3 separate regions of the Homo sapiens genome follow, and all the other regions are linked to region 2. The links are contacts of gene promoters, found by promoter capture Hi-C in human tissues and cell types (Jung and others, 2019). All regions are on one chromosome and are shown on one strand. The core of a region is centred on a gene start or on the middle of the fragment in contact, and the rest is flanking DNA. Distances in the headings are between cores, read along the strand shown. Region 1 overlaps OSBPL9 (oxysterol binding protein like 9). Region 2 holds the start of RAB3B (RAB3B, member RAS oncogene family). Region 3 overlaps CC2D1B (coiled-coil and C2 domain containing 1B).

The links. Contacts are between HindIII fragments. The study calls those that stand out against the background at their distance.
Region 1: a fragment that was not itself captured here is called in contact with the fragment with the promoter of RAB3B in region 2 in 1 of the 25 tissues and cell types used here (spleen).
Region 3: a contact is called between a fragment that was not itself captured here and the fragment with the promoter of RAB3B in region 2, in 1 of the 25 tissues and cell types used here (spleen).

What each region holds. Positions count from the first base shown.
Region 1 is chr1:51,641,949-51,646,380 of GRCh38, reverse strand. The region is part of intron 1 of OSBPL9 (oxysterol binding protein like 9); the gene reads right to left. Among named protein-coding and RNA genes, the nearest start is that of OSBPL9, 27 kb to the right of the region's middle. The HindIII fragment of the contact is 3,924 bases long and covers 1,187-4,432 here.
Region 2 is chr1:51,987,470-51,992,199 of GRCh38, reverse strand. It overlaps RAB3B (RAB3B, member RAS oncogene family), which reads left to right and starts at 1,500. Exons shown (of 5, transcript NM_002867.4): 1 at 1,500-1,648. RefSeq lists a silencer at 1,477-1,586. The HindIII fragment of the contact is 14,307 bases long and covers 1-2,928 here.
Region 3 is chr1:52,353,225-52,357,932 of GRCh38, reverse strand. It overlaps CC2D1B (coiled-coil and C2 domain containing 1B), which reads left to right. Exons shown (of 25, transcript NM_001330585.2): 14 at 35-152; 15 at 235-407; 16 at 807-932; 17 at 1,491-1,549; 18 at 1,631-1,747; 19 at 2,089-2,162; 20 at 2,267-2,325; 21 at 2,484-2,535; 22 at 2,994-3,093; 23 at 3,235-3,325; 24 at 4,286-4,415. The coding sequence ends at 4,414. Among named protein-coding and RNA genes, the nearest start is that of CC2D1B, 11 kb to the left of the region's middle. RefSeq lists an enhancer at 261-762. The HindIII fragment of the contact is 6,192 bases long and covers 1-4,708 here.

The DNA of each region.
Region 1 (4,432 bases), core at 1,899-4,398, 350 kb after region 2:
TATAATAGCATCAAAAGGTAAAATACTTATTAATAAATTTAATAAAAGAAGCATAAGACTTGTACACTGAAAACTACAAAACAACACAAGGAAATTAAAGAAGACCTAAATAAATAGAAAGATACCTCATGCTCTTAGATTGAAAGACTTAATGTTGTTAAGATGGCAGTACTCCCTAAATTGATTTACAGATTCAATATAATACCTATCAAAATCCTAACTCCCCTTTTCTGTTGTAGAAATTGATAAGCTGATGCTAAAATTCAGTGGTTTTGCAAGGGACCCAGAATAGCCAGAACAAACTTCAAAAAAAGAACAACATTGGAGGACTCACACTTCTCAATTCCAAAATGCAACACAAAACCACAGTAATAATAGACAGTGTGGTACTGACATTAGGATATGCATAGGATCAATGGAATAGAATTGCAAGTATAGAAATAAACCCATACATACATAATCAAGTGATTTTTTTTTACAAGAGTGCCAAGACTATCCAATAGGGAATAGTCTTTCCAACAAATGATGATTAAACCATATGTAAAAGAATGAAGCTGGATACCTACCCTATGCCATAAAAAAAAGTTAACTCAAAATGGATCCAAGACCTAAATTTAAAGGGTAAAACTATTAAGTTCTTAGGTAAAAACGTAGGTATAAATCTTTGTGACCTTGGAATCAGCAATGGTTACATGATACCAAAAGCACAAGCAATAAAAGAAATATTAATAAACTGGGCATCATCAAAATTAAAAACATTTGTCCTTAAAGAACACTATCACACTAAGGCAGGAGGATCCCTTGAGCCCAGGAGTTTGAGGTTATGATGAGCTATAATCATGCCACTGCACCATAGCCTGGGCAACAGAATGAGACCCTGTCTTAAAAAAAAAACCAACCAAACAAACAAAAAACACTACCAAGAAAGTGAAAAGACAAACCAAAGAATGAGAGAAAATATTTGCAAATCATATATATCTGGGTAGGGGTATAGTATCGAGAATATATACAGAACTCGCACAACTCAACAATAAAAAGACAACCCAATTTAAAAATGGGCAAAGGATGTGAGTAGATATTTTGCCTAAGAAAATCAAGTTAAGAAGATAGTTTCAGCTGGTGATAAGTGTTAAGAAAATAAAGGAAGGTGATTGTCTTAGTGCATCTTGTGCTACTATAACAGAATACCAGAGACTGCATAATTTATAACAGAAATTTATTTTCTCAAGTTTTAAGGGGCTGGGAATTCCAAGATCCAAGCACCAGCATCTGGTGAGAGCCCTATTTATCGCAGAGCAGAGGGTGGAAAGGCAAAGAGTACAAGTGAGCGAGCCCTTTTTGTGATGGCGTTGATCTGTTTACAAGGGGACTGCCTAAACACTTTCCATTAGCCCCCACTTCCCAACACTGTTGCAGTGTTGCAGTTAAGTTTCCAACACATGAATGCTGGGGGACACATTTAAATTAGAGCAGTGATGATCAGAAAGTTATTGTTGGGAAAGGAGGTTCTATTTTAACTTAAGTAGCTTGAAAAAGCTCTTCAAGGAGTTGATACAAGAACTGAGATTTGAATTAGAGGACCGAGTAAAGTGAAGAATCTGCGGGCAAAGTCCCAGGCAGAGGGAAGAGCAGGAAATGATTCATCAGTAGACTTGCTCTCCCATTCTCGGCAAGGGCTATTTCACATTTTCTCCACTCTCTCCCTCAGCACATCTCCACCTGGCTTTCTCAAAGGCATTTAAAACTCAACATGGGCTGGGCGCGGTGGCTCACCTCTATAATCCCAGCACTTTGGGAGGCTGAGGCGGACAGATCACATGAGGTCGGGAGTTCAAGACCAGCCTGGCCAACATGGTGAAACCCTGTCTCTACTAAAAGTACAAAAATTAGCCGGGTGTGGTGGCACACGCCTGTAATCCCAGCTACTAGGGAGGCTGAGGCAGCTAGAATTGCTTGAACCTGGGAGACAGAGGTTGCAGTGAGCCGAGATTGCGCCACTACACTCCAGCCTGGGCAACAGCGCAAGACTCCGTCTCAAAAACAAAACAAAACAAAACTCAATATGTATAAAACTAACTCGTGATCCTGTCTCTCTTCCATCCAATCAATCAAAGTCCCCTCATTTCTGTCTCATAAAAGCTCTCAAATCTTCTTTCATGAGGTCATAAGGGAAAAAGAAAAACAAACTCTCAAAACCTTTCATTTAACCTCATCTCTACCATCAACCACCCCAATCCAGCCCTCTACAATACATCCCAATATTGTATCACCTGCTTTTTTTTTTTTTTTTTTTTTTTTTTTTAGACAAGGTCTCACTCTGTTGCCCAGGCTGGAGTGCAGTGGCACAATTTTGGCTCACTGTAACCTCTGCCTCCTAGGCTCAAGTGATCCTCCCACCTCAGCCTCCAGAGTAGCTGGGACTACAGGCATGTGCCACCACACCCAGCTAATTTTTTTTTTCCTTGTAGAGAAGGGGTTTCGCCTTGTTGCCCAAGCTGCCTCAAACGCCTGGGCTCAAGCGATCTACCCACCTCAGCCTCCCAAAGTGCTGAGACTACAGGAGTGAGCCACCGTACCCAGCCTGTATCACCTTCTAATTCTTCTCTATCTCTTCTTCCTCTCCTCCAATCCTTTCTCCACACAGGAGCCAGGAGTCTTTTCAAAACATGAATCTGATCAGGTTACTTCTTCGATTAAAAAACAAAACAAGCAAGCAAGCAAAAAAAAGTACTTCATGGCTCTACATTGCACTTAAAATAAAATGCACATTTATCAATTTGCTCTCTCTAGAGACCCTGCTTGGCCTGGCTCCAGCCTACCTCAAAATACCCCATCATCCCTGGGCCCCACCCACACTCATCTTTCAGTTCCCTGAACCAGCCAATCACTTTCTTGCCTAAGGACTTTTACATGGATTGTTCTCATTGCCTGAAGTGCCTTTACTCATCTACCCTCACTCTTTTTACTGGCTAATTCCTACTTACCCTCAGTTCCCTGAGGAGGGAAGCTTTACCTGAACCTCTAGAGCAGATAGCCAACCCTTCACTTCTAACAAGGATATAATAAAACCCTTTTTTTCCCATAATACTGTGGGAAAATAAAATCCTATGGGCTTGAGTGTATCCCCCAAAAGTTCATGTGTTAGAAACCTAATCCCTCCGTCCTCATGAATAGATTAATGAGGACTCTGTCCTCCTTGATGGATTAATGTCACTATCACAGGAGTGTGCTCTTTATTGATGGAGTGACTTTGTCGTAAAAGCAATTTCCCTCACCTCTCTTGCTCTACCTCTCTCACCATGTGATGCCCTCCACCATGTTATGAAGCAGCAAGAAGACACTATGCTCTTCCAGCTGCTAAAACCATGAGCCAAAATAAACTTCTTTCCTTTATAAATTATCTAGTCTGTGGTATTCTGTTATAGCAACAGAAAACAGACTAAGACATAAAATGTCCATGGATTTCTCAATGTTCTTCTAAAAAGCTCTAGGGTCCTGGCAACATTTCTGCATGCCATAAGGATTAGATCTTTTGTTTTCAACTGGTCTGGAAGGATAATAAAACCCTCTCTCATTTCCCAGAGAAGTTTGAAAGGTTACAGCCTGGAGCAGTTCCCTAGGCCAAGCTTCCAAGGTGCTAAGAAAAGGGGTACAGCTATCTCCCTAGATATTTGTATGTAAAAAGAGATAAAACTCCAGATATGCCAAAGGGTTGGAGTTAGGATTTAGGCTTATTACCTTTCCTAAGTGACCATTTCATGAGGGGAGGGGGACAGTTGCCTATTTCCCCTTCATAGGAGAGAAAAATAATTTTTCCTTGTCCCCCACCTACAGAGTGTCTGGCTACTCACGCAGGACAATTGACCTGGCTTTTATAGCATCATCCTAGGGGTAAGGACTAGGGCAAAAGCAGGCCAATACATTTATTATTATGAAATGTCTCTGATCCAGAATACCTTGTGTGCATTCATGATAAAATTAACAAAGATAAATAATTAAGAGCCTGCCAAGTACTTTATAAATCTGTAATTAAACAATTCTGAAATTACTTAATTTCATCATCCCTATTAGCCTTAAATTCTAGGAGAATATTGACCTATTACACAGAGGAAACTCAAAAAATATTGAATAAATGATAGGACGGAGACACGTAAGTACAGCTAGCCATTTAAATTTTCATTAACGTAACCCTCAATTTTATGTACTATGCCTCAACAGCCAGTAATTTGAAGCTTCTATTCTTATTCTGATTATGTTGGTCAGAAAATTAAAATCGGCTGCCCAAAGACAAATTAAACTTCACAGATTTTAGTGTGTTACTAAGTCTGTTAAACCTGCCTCAAAGGAAAAAAAAACATTTGGCCTTTACGCTAGCTACCATCTTTATAACCACTTGACACTTACCTTTTTTAAAAGTCAGTACTTTTTCTGT
Region 2 (4,730 bases), core at 251-2,750:
AGCTTGGGTGGTTCCTAGGCTGGAGATGTACACTGTAGACAGGGTCATAATGGAACTTGGGGGGAAAATGGTTTTGGTATTTGACTCAGACCTCTAAGATCTGAGATGGGGGAGAAGTGTGGGGAAAGACAATGATTCTAGAGCAAGCCTTCAGCTGGCTCCTGTGACCTCAGGAAGACTGGAAGTCCATATCAGGATTTGAGGGTGGGGTATTTATTGCCTCCTCTATCTGCCTCCTCTAGTGGAAGTGGGACTTCCTAGGGCCAGGCCAGGCAAGAACATTTTTCTACTCCTGTTGACAGCCTCCTGGTAATGGGAAACCATTGAGAGGTTTTTGTTTGTTTGTTTGTTTGGTTTTTGATGGAGTCTGGCTTTGTTGCCCAGGCTGGAGTGCACTGCTGGAGTGCAGTGATCTCGGCTCACTGCAACCTCTGCCTCCTGGGTGCAAGCAATTCTGCCTCAGCCTCCCAAGTAGCTGGGACTACAGGCATGCACCACCATGCCCGGCTAATTTTTGTATTTTTAGTAGAGACAGGGTTTCACCATGTTGGCCAGGTTGGTCTCGAACTCCTGACCTCAAGTGATCTGCCCACTTTGGCCTTCCAAAGTGCTGGGATTACAGGCGTCAGCCACTGTGCCTGGCCGAGAGTTTTCTTAAACAAGGTTGATGGTAACATGGTGACATTTTTTAAAGGGTTGCTCGGGCTTGTGTCAAAATGATTTTGGTATCTGACTCAGAATGAATGGGACCAGGAAGTCTCACAGCTACCGAAGTCACCAGGAGTATGGCAGAACAGGGGCTAGTTAGGATGACCATGGGCCAGGGGCTGCAATCTTTAATGCATAAGGAACAATTGGGTGTCAGTGATGAGGAGGGGTGGAGGGTGGTATGACTGGAGACCACAGGAGAAAGAATTTTTGTACAAGGGTGGAAATGGCCATGCTGACACCACGTCCTGGTTTTATAGGGTGAATTGGAGAGTGAAGGCAGGAATTAGGAAGCTGTTGCATTAGTCCAAGCAAGAAGTGATGATGCTGGAGTCAGAACAAGGGCAATGGAGACACAGAGGAAGGGCAGGGATATGTTAAGGCGGTGGGATGTGGGGTGTGAAGGAAACACAGATAGGGTAGAGGACAGCGTCCAGGTTTCTGGCTTGGTTTCCGCTTGTAGTCAGCCTCCCTCTCTGGGCTTTTGTGAAGACGGAGCCATAGAACGGACCGGACCAGAAAGCAGTTTGGAAATGGCAAAACTGCTACCCATCATCAGCTACATTATCATCAAAGCTCTCTAATTACCCTAGTAAGTTCAGTCAATGGAACGAGGCATGACAATTAAGATAAATCACGAGAGTCACCCAGACATGGGGGACCTGGAGGTCCTGAGTCACCTCGGATTACACCTGCTAGGAGTTGAGGGCCGGGGCGGGGCGAACACAGACTCCGCCCTTGGGCGGGGCCTGGATGCGGCCGGAGCGGAGCAGTGCTGGAGCGGGAGCCTCAGCCCTCAGGCGCCACTGTGAGGACCTGACCGGACCAGACCATCCCGCAGCGCCCCGCCCCGGCCCCCTCCGCGCCCTCCCGACGCCAGGTCCTGCCGTCCCGCCGACCGTCCGGGAGCGAACCCGTCGTCCCGCACTCGGAGTCCGCGGTAAGGGGCGCGGCCCCGGCAGCCCGCCCGCGGAGGATCAGGGACCGATCCCCGGCGCGGGGCGCTGGGCACCGAGAGCGGGCGCCGAGAAGGAGCGCGGGGCAGCGGAAGGAAGCCGGGGGAGGAGCGAGGGAGGGGGCTCCGCGGCGGCAGAGGTGGGGCTCACCTAGGGAGGGGGCGCCGAGGGGGTCTCCCAGACGTTGGGGGCAGCCGGGGGAGCTCCAAGGGCGGGAGGGGAGCAAGAAAGACGGCGCTGGGGCTGGGAGGAGAGATGGGGGGCAACTGGAGGGCAGTGAGGGATCGCTGGGGGAAACGGGGGCGTGGGGGGCGGGGGAGCTGCGAGGAGGGCGGAGTGGGGCTGTGCGGAAAGGTGGTACCGGGCAGCCGAGGGGCAGCGAAGGGGGCGGTGAAGGGAGCGGACTGAGGGGAGCTAGAGCGGGGGTGCGGGGGGAGGCATGGAGGTGAGGAGCTGAGGGGAGGGGACTGGCTGGGCGGGGGTCGTTTGGAGCTGGAGGGGACTGAGGTGCCGAGGGCAAGGGGCGCTGGGCAGCTGGGGAGTGTCTGGTTGGGAGAGGGTCGGGGGTGGGGATGTGGGTATGGATAGCTGGGAAGGAGAAAGGCAGCAGGGCAGTGTCTGGTCGAAAGAGGGTCATTTATGGGGGATGTGGGTATGGATAGCTGGGGTCGGAGGTTGAGCCCGGCTGGGGACCGGCGTGGGGGTAACTGTAGATGGAAGACGAGGGGTGGGGCTTGGGGGCGGGAAGCTTGGGAGAATGGAAGGGTGAGAGGCCAGGTTGGGTCTACCCTGCTGCAGAGGAAGGGGGCAGGGAGCCGGTGGAGACACAGGGAAGTGGCCTTGGAAATGGACACAGGGGCCTACATTCTGGTCAGGAGTGGAGAGGAGGCTCTGGAATAGAGTAGGGTCTGGCGGCTGCAAGTGGAGGAATCGTGGGAGAACTTGGAGTGTATAGATAGGGTGGTGGGGCGCTGGGTCAGCCTGGGGAGGAGGCCAGGTGTGGGTCGTGGTGTAAGGGTGGAAAGGTAATGGGGGCTGGAGTGGTGTCCACGCACTAGCGGTGTCTCGGCCACTCAGGAGTCCAAGGAGGGGACCCAGGCACTGGACCTTGTTACACGGGCACCGGGGATCACAGAAAATAAGAGAATCGTGGACAGAAAAAGTCATCCAACTCTGTTCTGTAGTCCAAGCATGGAAGCAACTTTGGGGAGGGCAGGGCAGCAGCCTTTGGAAGCTAAGAGAGATGTGGAGGAGGTGGGAGAAAGATGGGCCCTCAAAACACACACACACACACACACACACACACACACACACACACACACACACAAAACAAGATGGGCCCTCTTCCCCCGGCTTCCTGGAATCCAGATGGAAAGGGGTGGGAGACAGTAAAAGGAGAGGATGTGTGTGTGTGTGTGTGTGTGTGTGTGTGCGCGCGCACAGGTGGGTGTCCACCTGTTCTGTGCCTATAAACAGAGGAAGACAATGGAAGCCGTGAAAGGCCCTATCTATAGAAGTGGAAAGCCCTGGTGCCCTGTGGGAGCCAGAGAAGAAGCATTTTGGGGGAGGTGGGTGGGTTGGGGAAGCCTTCCTGGTCATGAAGGATTTAGCTAGCAGTGGAGGAAAGTGTGTTCCTATCAGAGGAAACCGTATGGGAAAAGGCAAAAATCTAAAAGCATCTCCAGTCCAAGAAATAGATCTTCAGTTTCTTAAAGATTATGACATGAAGGGAGGCATCAGTAACCTATACAAAATATTTAAATAGATTTCCCCTCTAAGCTTGAAGCTCCTAGGGTTTCTCTCCATCTCCCTAAAGTATAGCACAGGTCCTGGTGCATAGTAGGTGCTTGGTGAATGTTGATTGAATGAATAATTGGTGCTCCTGCCTCAATTTCTTCATCCATTCCCAAGAATTGTTGTGAGAATCAAATAGGATAATGTGGGTGAAAAGAACTTTGTAAACTGTAAAACAATGTACAAAGAGAGAGGCCACTGATGTTATTCTGCAGGTGTTCCTGTTTTGTCAGTGGACACACCCATGGCTATCTCTTTCCAATCTGGAGGAGGAAGGAAATGAATATCAAGCATCTGTTGGTGCAAGATGGAATGCTTTGAAAGCATCTTGTAGAATGCTAGACATTTAGTAGGTGCTCAATAAATGGTAGCTATTGTGATATTGTTTCTGTGGCTCTAGGAGACCTGGGAAAACAATGAGAAGGTGGTGATGGGTCAGCAGTGGGGAATGGTCTAAAGACAGATTGAATTAGAAAAGTAGAGTATGGCTTAAAGGAGGATGAGGTCCACATTTGCCCAACTCCCTTCTTATTCTCACTGAAATGCTCCAAGTAGGAAGACAGGGAATTACATTATTGAGCCCCTGCTATATTGCATATACAGTTGACCTTTGAACAGCATGGGTTTGAACTGTGTAGGTTCACTTATACCTGAATTTTTTTTTTCAACCAAACACTGATTAAAAAAAATACCATGGTGGGTCAAGCGCAGTGGCTCAAACCTGGAATCCCAGCTATTTGGGAGGCTGAGGTAGGAGGATCGCTTGAGCCCAGGAACCTGAAGCTACAGTGAGTTATGATCAGGCCACTGTACTCCATCCTGGGAAACAGAGTGACACCCATCTCTTAAAAAAGAAGAAAAAGAGAAGAAAATACAGTAGTGAAGGGAGGTGAAGTCTGTATATTCAGAGGACCAACTTTTAGTCTAGGTGGGTTCCACTGGGCCAACTGTGGTTCTTGAGTAGGCGTGGATTTCGGTATATATGGGGGTCCTGGAGCCAATCCCTTGCCTATACCAAGAAATTACTGTACTATTCTAGATGTATAACCCACATTACCTATAATTTTCCCAACAACACTTGTTTTATGAATGAGGAAACTGTCTTAATCATGTAACATTTCTTGCCAAGGTCTCATAGGTAATAAATGATAGACCTGGAAACTGAATCTAGTTTGTTTGATTTGGAGCTCCAAACTATTTCCACTACACAGGATGACTTGCTAGAAGAAACCATGAAGCACAGAGACAAACAAACAAACAAAATAAGGGGTT
Region 3 (4,708 bases), core at 782-3,281, 370 kb before region 2:
CATCCCCTCCTAACAGCCTCCTGGGCACCTGCAGGGTGAGCCCCCAGCACAGGCCCCAGTGGCCAAGAAACCTGCACGGCCCACAGTCCCTTCATCCCAGCGCCTGCCTGAGCCCAGGGCCTCAAGTTCTAAGGAGTCACCGAGTCCATCTGGTGAGTTGGGGACAAGCAGGGTGAAGAACTGAGGGCCTAGAGAGGGCAGGTGTGGCCCTAACCAGTGGCCTTCTCCCTTCAGTGCGGGAGCAGCTGGCACTGCTGGAGGCACGGAAACTGCAGTATCAGCGGGCAGCCCTGCAGGCCAAGCGCAGCCAGGACCTGGAGCAGGCCAAAGCCTATCTGCGGGTAGCCAAATGGCTTGAGGCTCAGATCATCCAGGCCCGATCTGGCAGACCTGTTGATCTGTCCAAGGTGAGTCCCACCTGGTTAACCACCAGGACTTCTCAGGCGGAGGTGGCGGCTGGCAGGCTTGACAGGCTGTGAACAAGGGCAGCTTCTGGGATGAGGCAGGGTTTGGACAGAGCATGATGACAGCTGGGAAAGAGCCTTTTGCTCATACTCCTCTACCTCACGGCCCCAAAGGAAACCAGGAGAAGGGAAGGTGGGCTGCCTGTGGTCAGAGATGACAAGGCTGGGCCAGGCCATGGGAGGCAAGAGTGTTATTTTGGGATAGAATGGGAGGCGATGAGTTGTCATCACTGGACTTTAGTAGAAGCTGAAGAATTACTTAGTTTGGGCTCCTGCCTTTGTTGGACTTGGTAGAGGAGTAATCTGACTCTTGGGGCCCGAGGGGCCTTGTGACCTGGGTAGGTGCCTTCGCCCTTGACGGATGAGGAGGGTGACTTCATCCTCATCCACCATGAGGACCTGCGACTCTCCCAGAAGGCGGAGGAGGTGTATGCCCAGCTGCAAAAAATGCTTCTGGAGCAACAAGAGGTCAGCAGGCCCCTCGTCTGTTCCTCCCCTCTGTGCCCACAGCCTCCCCGTGGAGGAAGACCTGGAGCTCAGACCACACAGCCCTGGACTCAAAATTCTCAGCTCTTCCACTTACTCACTGTGTGACTTGGGCAAGGCACTTTCTTCTCTGAACTACATTTTCCTCATCTATGAGATGGGGTGATAATACCCCTTTCAGGGTGGTACAAACAACAGAGAAGAGGGAAAGAACATTGTGATGTGCGTGTATGTTTATGTATTTATCTATCTGAACTGCCACCTGTTCTGGAAAGGCTGCCTTCTGAGGGGATGTTTGAGTTAGGTTTTGATGGAAGGAGTTGCTAATTTGGGGAATGGCTCTCCTCAGAAGAGAAAATGACAAAAGTGTAGGCAGAGAAACGTGGTGGGACTTGGGAGTAGTGCCCTTGGGGCTGTGTTGTGGGAGGAGAGAGGTGAGGCTACAGAGGAAAGTTGAAGCTTTGAGAAGTCTAGCCTTGAATGCCAACCAAGGCAGGTCCTGCTCTGGGCTCGGGAGTCACTCTGGGCCTCTATTTTCAGAAGTGCCTGCTGTTCTCCAAGCAGTTCATGCACCAGGGCAACGTGGCTGAGACCACCCGGTAAGTGCAAGGGCTGGGGCTGGGCTCATAGGGTGGGGAGCAGAAAATCCACCATCATGCTGACATACCCATCCCTGTCAGATTTGAGAAGCTTGCTCAGGACCGCAAGAAACAGCTGGAGATCCTGCAGCTGGCCCAGGCTCAGGGCCTCGACCCTCCCACCCACCACTTTGAGTTGAAGACATTCCAGACTGTGAGGTACCAAGGCCTAGGGAAACAGGGGCTCCAGGCAGGGAGGGGCAGGAGGCTGGGAGCCCAGGCCAGAGACTGCTACCCCTTTAGTGAGGCTTCCCAAGCCTGGCCCCGCTGTGGGCACTGGGGCTGCTGAGGACGACAGGGTGCATGCTAGTGGAGAGCGCACAGCTGTCTGGGTGCTGTGGAAAGAGCTCTGGACCAGAAGTCAGAGATCAAGGTCTGCATACCAGCTCTGCCTTCCCTCCCGTCACCACCCAGCTGGGCAGACAGGCCCTGGACGAAGGGACCTTGTTCCACTACTGTCCTTCACTTTTGAGCATTTTCTCCTTCCCGCTTGGCTCTAGGATCTTCTCAGAACTCAACAGCACAGAAATGCATCTGATCATTGTCCGGGGAATGAACCTCCCAGCCCCTCCAGGTAACCCTAGGGCCGCCCCTACTCCAGGAGGCTCTTGCCCGGACACTCCAAGTGCTAGGCTCCTGGCCACTCCCTCTGACTTGACTCCCTTTTCTCCTTCCCAGGGGTGACTCCCGATGACCTGGATGCTTTTGTGCGGTTTGAGTTTCACTACCCTAACTCGGTGAGGTTCAGGTAGAAGTAGGATCCTCTGAAACCCGCCTTGCATTCCAGGACCCTGTGCTCACTTTCTTCCCATCCCTGGGAGGTGTGGCTGCAGTGCCTGCCCTGTGTGCCTCTTTGTTTATACGCTGTCCTGACTTCTCCCTCCTCACTGCTTAGGACCAGGCTCAAAAAAGCAAAACAGCTGTGGTGAAGAACACAAACTCTCCAGGTGAGGGCCACACGTGGGCCTCTTTCTCCTCCCTCAGAGTGTGTGGGCAGCACTGGTGTTTCCAGAGTGGGTTCCCATCTATGCCCTTACTTGATCCACCCCACTTGGGAGATAAAGGTGCTGTTAACATGCTTCTTCTGTAGTTGGAGAAACACGCAGAGAGGTACAGGGACTTGCCTGGGGCCTCATGGCAAGGAAGTGGTAGAAATGGGATATGAACACAGGAATTCTGTATCCCAATTCCAAGTCTTTCCTACTTTGTTACAATCTATGACTAAAAAGAGTACAAAAACTCACTTCCAAGGCCAGGACCGCGATGCTCTACCACCCTTTGGAGGCAGTACCCCAAAATGCAGGTGGAGAGATTGGGGGAAGGCAGCCAGCCCTGGGCCTCCATTTCCACTTCCTCAGGAAATCCCGAGAGCCAAGCCCCTCCTTGCTTTCTCCCCCTTTGCCAGAATTTGATCAACTCTTCAAACTAAACATCAACCGAAACCACCGGGGCTTCAAGAGGGTGATCCAGAGCAAAGGCATCAAGTTTGAGATCTTCCACAAAGGGTGAGGCTCCTATCGGTCATGCTGCCACACGGGCCGGGAGGAGGGAAGAGCGTTTGTCACTGCTGCCCCTGCATGGGCTCAGCCAGCACATTCCTGCCTTCCCTGCCCAGTCCAATCCTCTGCTGCCTCTTGACTCCCCAGGTCCTTCTTCAGAAGCGACAAGCTGGTTGGCACAGCACACCTGAAACTGGAGCGGCTGGAGAATGAGTGTGAGATCAGAGAAATTGTGGAGGTAGGGGCTGGGGTGTGGGCAAGCCAAAGGGGTTGGTACGACAAGAGCCAATACGCACTGAATGCCACACCTTGTTGTAGGTTTTCGTGCTCATTACTTAATTTGAAATTCTCCACAAGTGTGCTTAGAGTAGGTGGAATCCTCATTTCACAGATGGAGAGGTTCAGAAGGTCTGAGAAATCTCACAGAGGGACCCAGGAGAAGGCAGCCTCCTTGTTTCCATGAACTCAATGGATTCCACAGGCAAGGACTATACGACCTTGCCTCTGACAAATGAGGAAACTCAGGTCCGAGAGGAAAGGGGGTTCTGTAAGCTCATATGGTGTGTCCTTGGCAGAGCTACGACCAGCTCCTTACTGATAACCTATGTAGGCTGGGGCTCTTCCCACTGTAGCACACCTGGCCCTACTGCCTGCCTGGGGAAGTTGTTCTTATGCGGGCCCTGGTCTCTATTGGAGCCACTGAGGGTGGTTGGACTTCTTGGGCCTATTGTACTGCTTTGTGCCCTAATTGACTGCCTCATCTTCTGCCCAAAAGAGGGAGTAGCGTGGTGAATGGGAAGGAACCCTGGGTTTGGGGTTCCAGTGCTGACTCTGCCACATAGAGTCATCTGCTTCTCTCTCTTGGCCATCTGTGAAGTGAGGGTTTGGGTCAGTGGAAGGCTGCTTCTTCAAGCCAATGTTTCTTCCAGAAGTTGCCGTGGGGATTGAGGAGAAAATGAACAGAGCTCTAGGATGCTTGTCTGGATTTATTTATTACTTTTTTAATAAGACTCACCTAAAACCACCACCACCTCCTCCTCCAAATACTGGGAGGGTAGGGTTTTCATGAATGGAGATTCCTGTGTTCATGCCACAGGACATCTTAGCTCCTCTCACTTCTTTCCTGGGAATGTAGGGACCTGCCTGCTCCCCATCTCTGTCCCCTTAGTTACCATTTCCCTCTCTGTGGTCCTCACAGGTCCTGGATGGAAGGAAGCCCACCGGGGGGAAGCTGGAGGTGAAGGTGAGGCTGCGGGAGCCTCTGAGTGGCCAGGATGTGCAGATGGTCACTGAGAACTGGCTGGTTCTGGAGCCCAGGGGCTTGTGAGGTGGGCAGCTCTCTGGGCCTTCAGAACCTTTGCCCCCTCCTTTTACTCAACTAACTACTCAACTCATATCTGGAGAGAAAACCTAGGAGTTTCTCATCTATGAGAAAGACCTACCATGCTGGGTAGGGCTTATGGGCTGAGTTTCTGATGTTCCTCAGTAGAACTGGGAAGAGAAGGTAACCTTCCAAGGTTTAACTATCTATCTATCTATCTATCTTCAGGAAACCCTTTCTAAAATCTTTGTGTTTTCACTGCAGTTTAGACTGACTTCTTGTGCTTTGCACCCCTGTGTA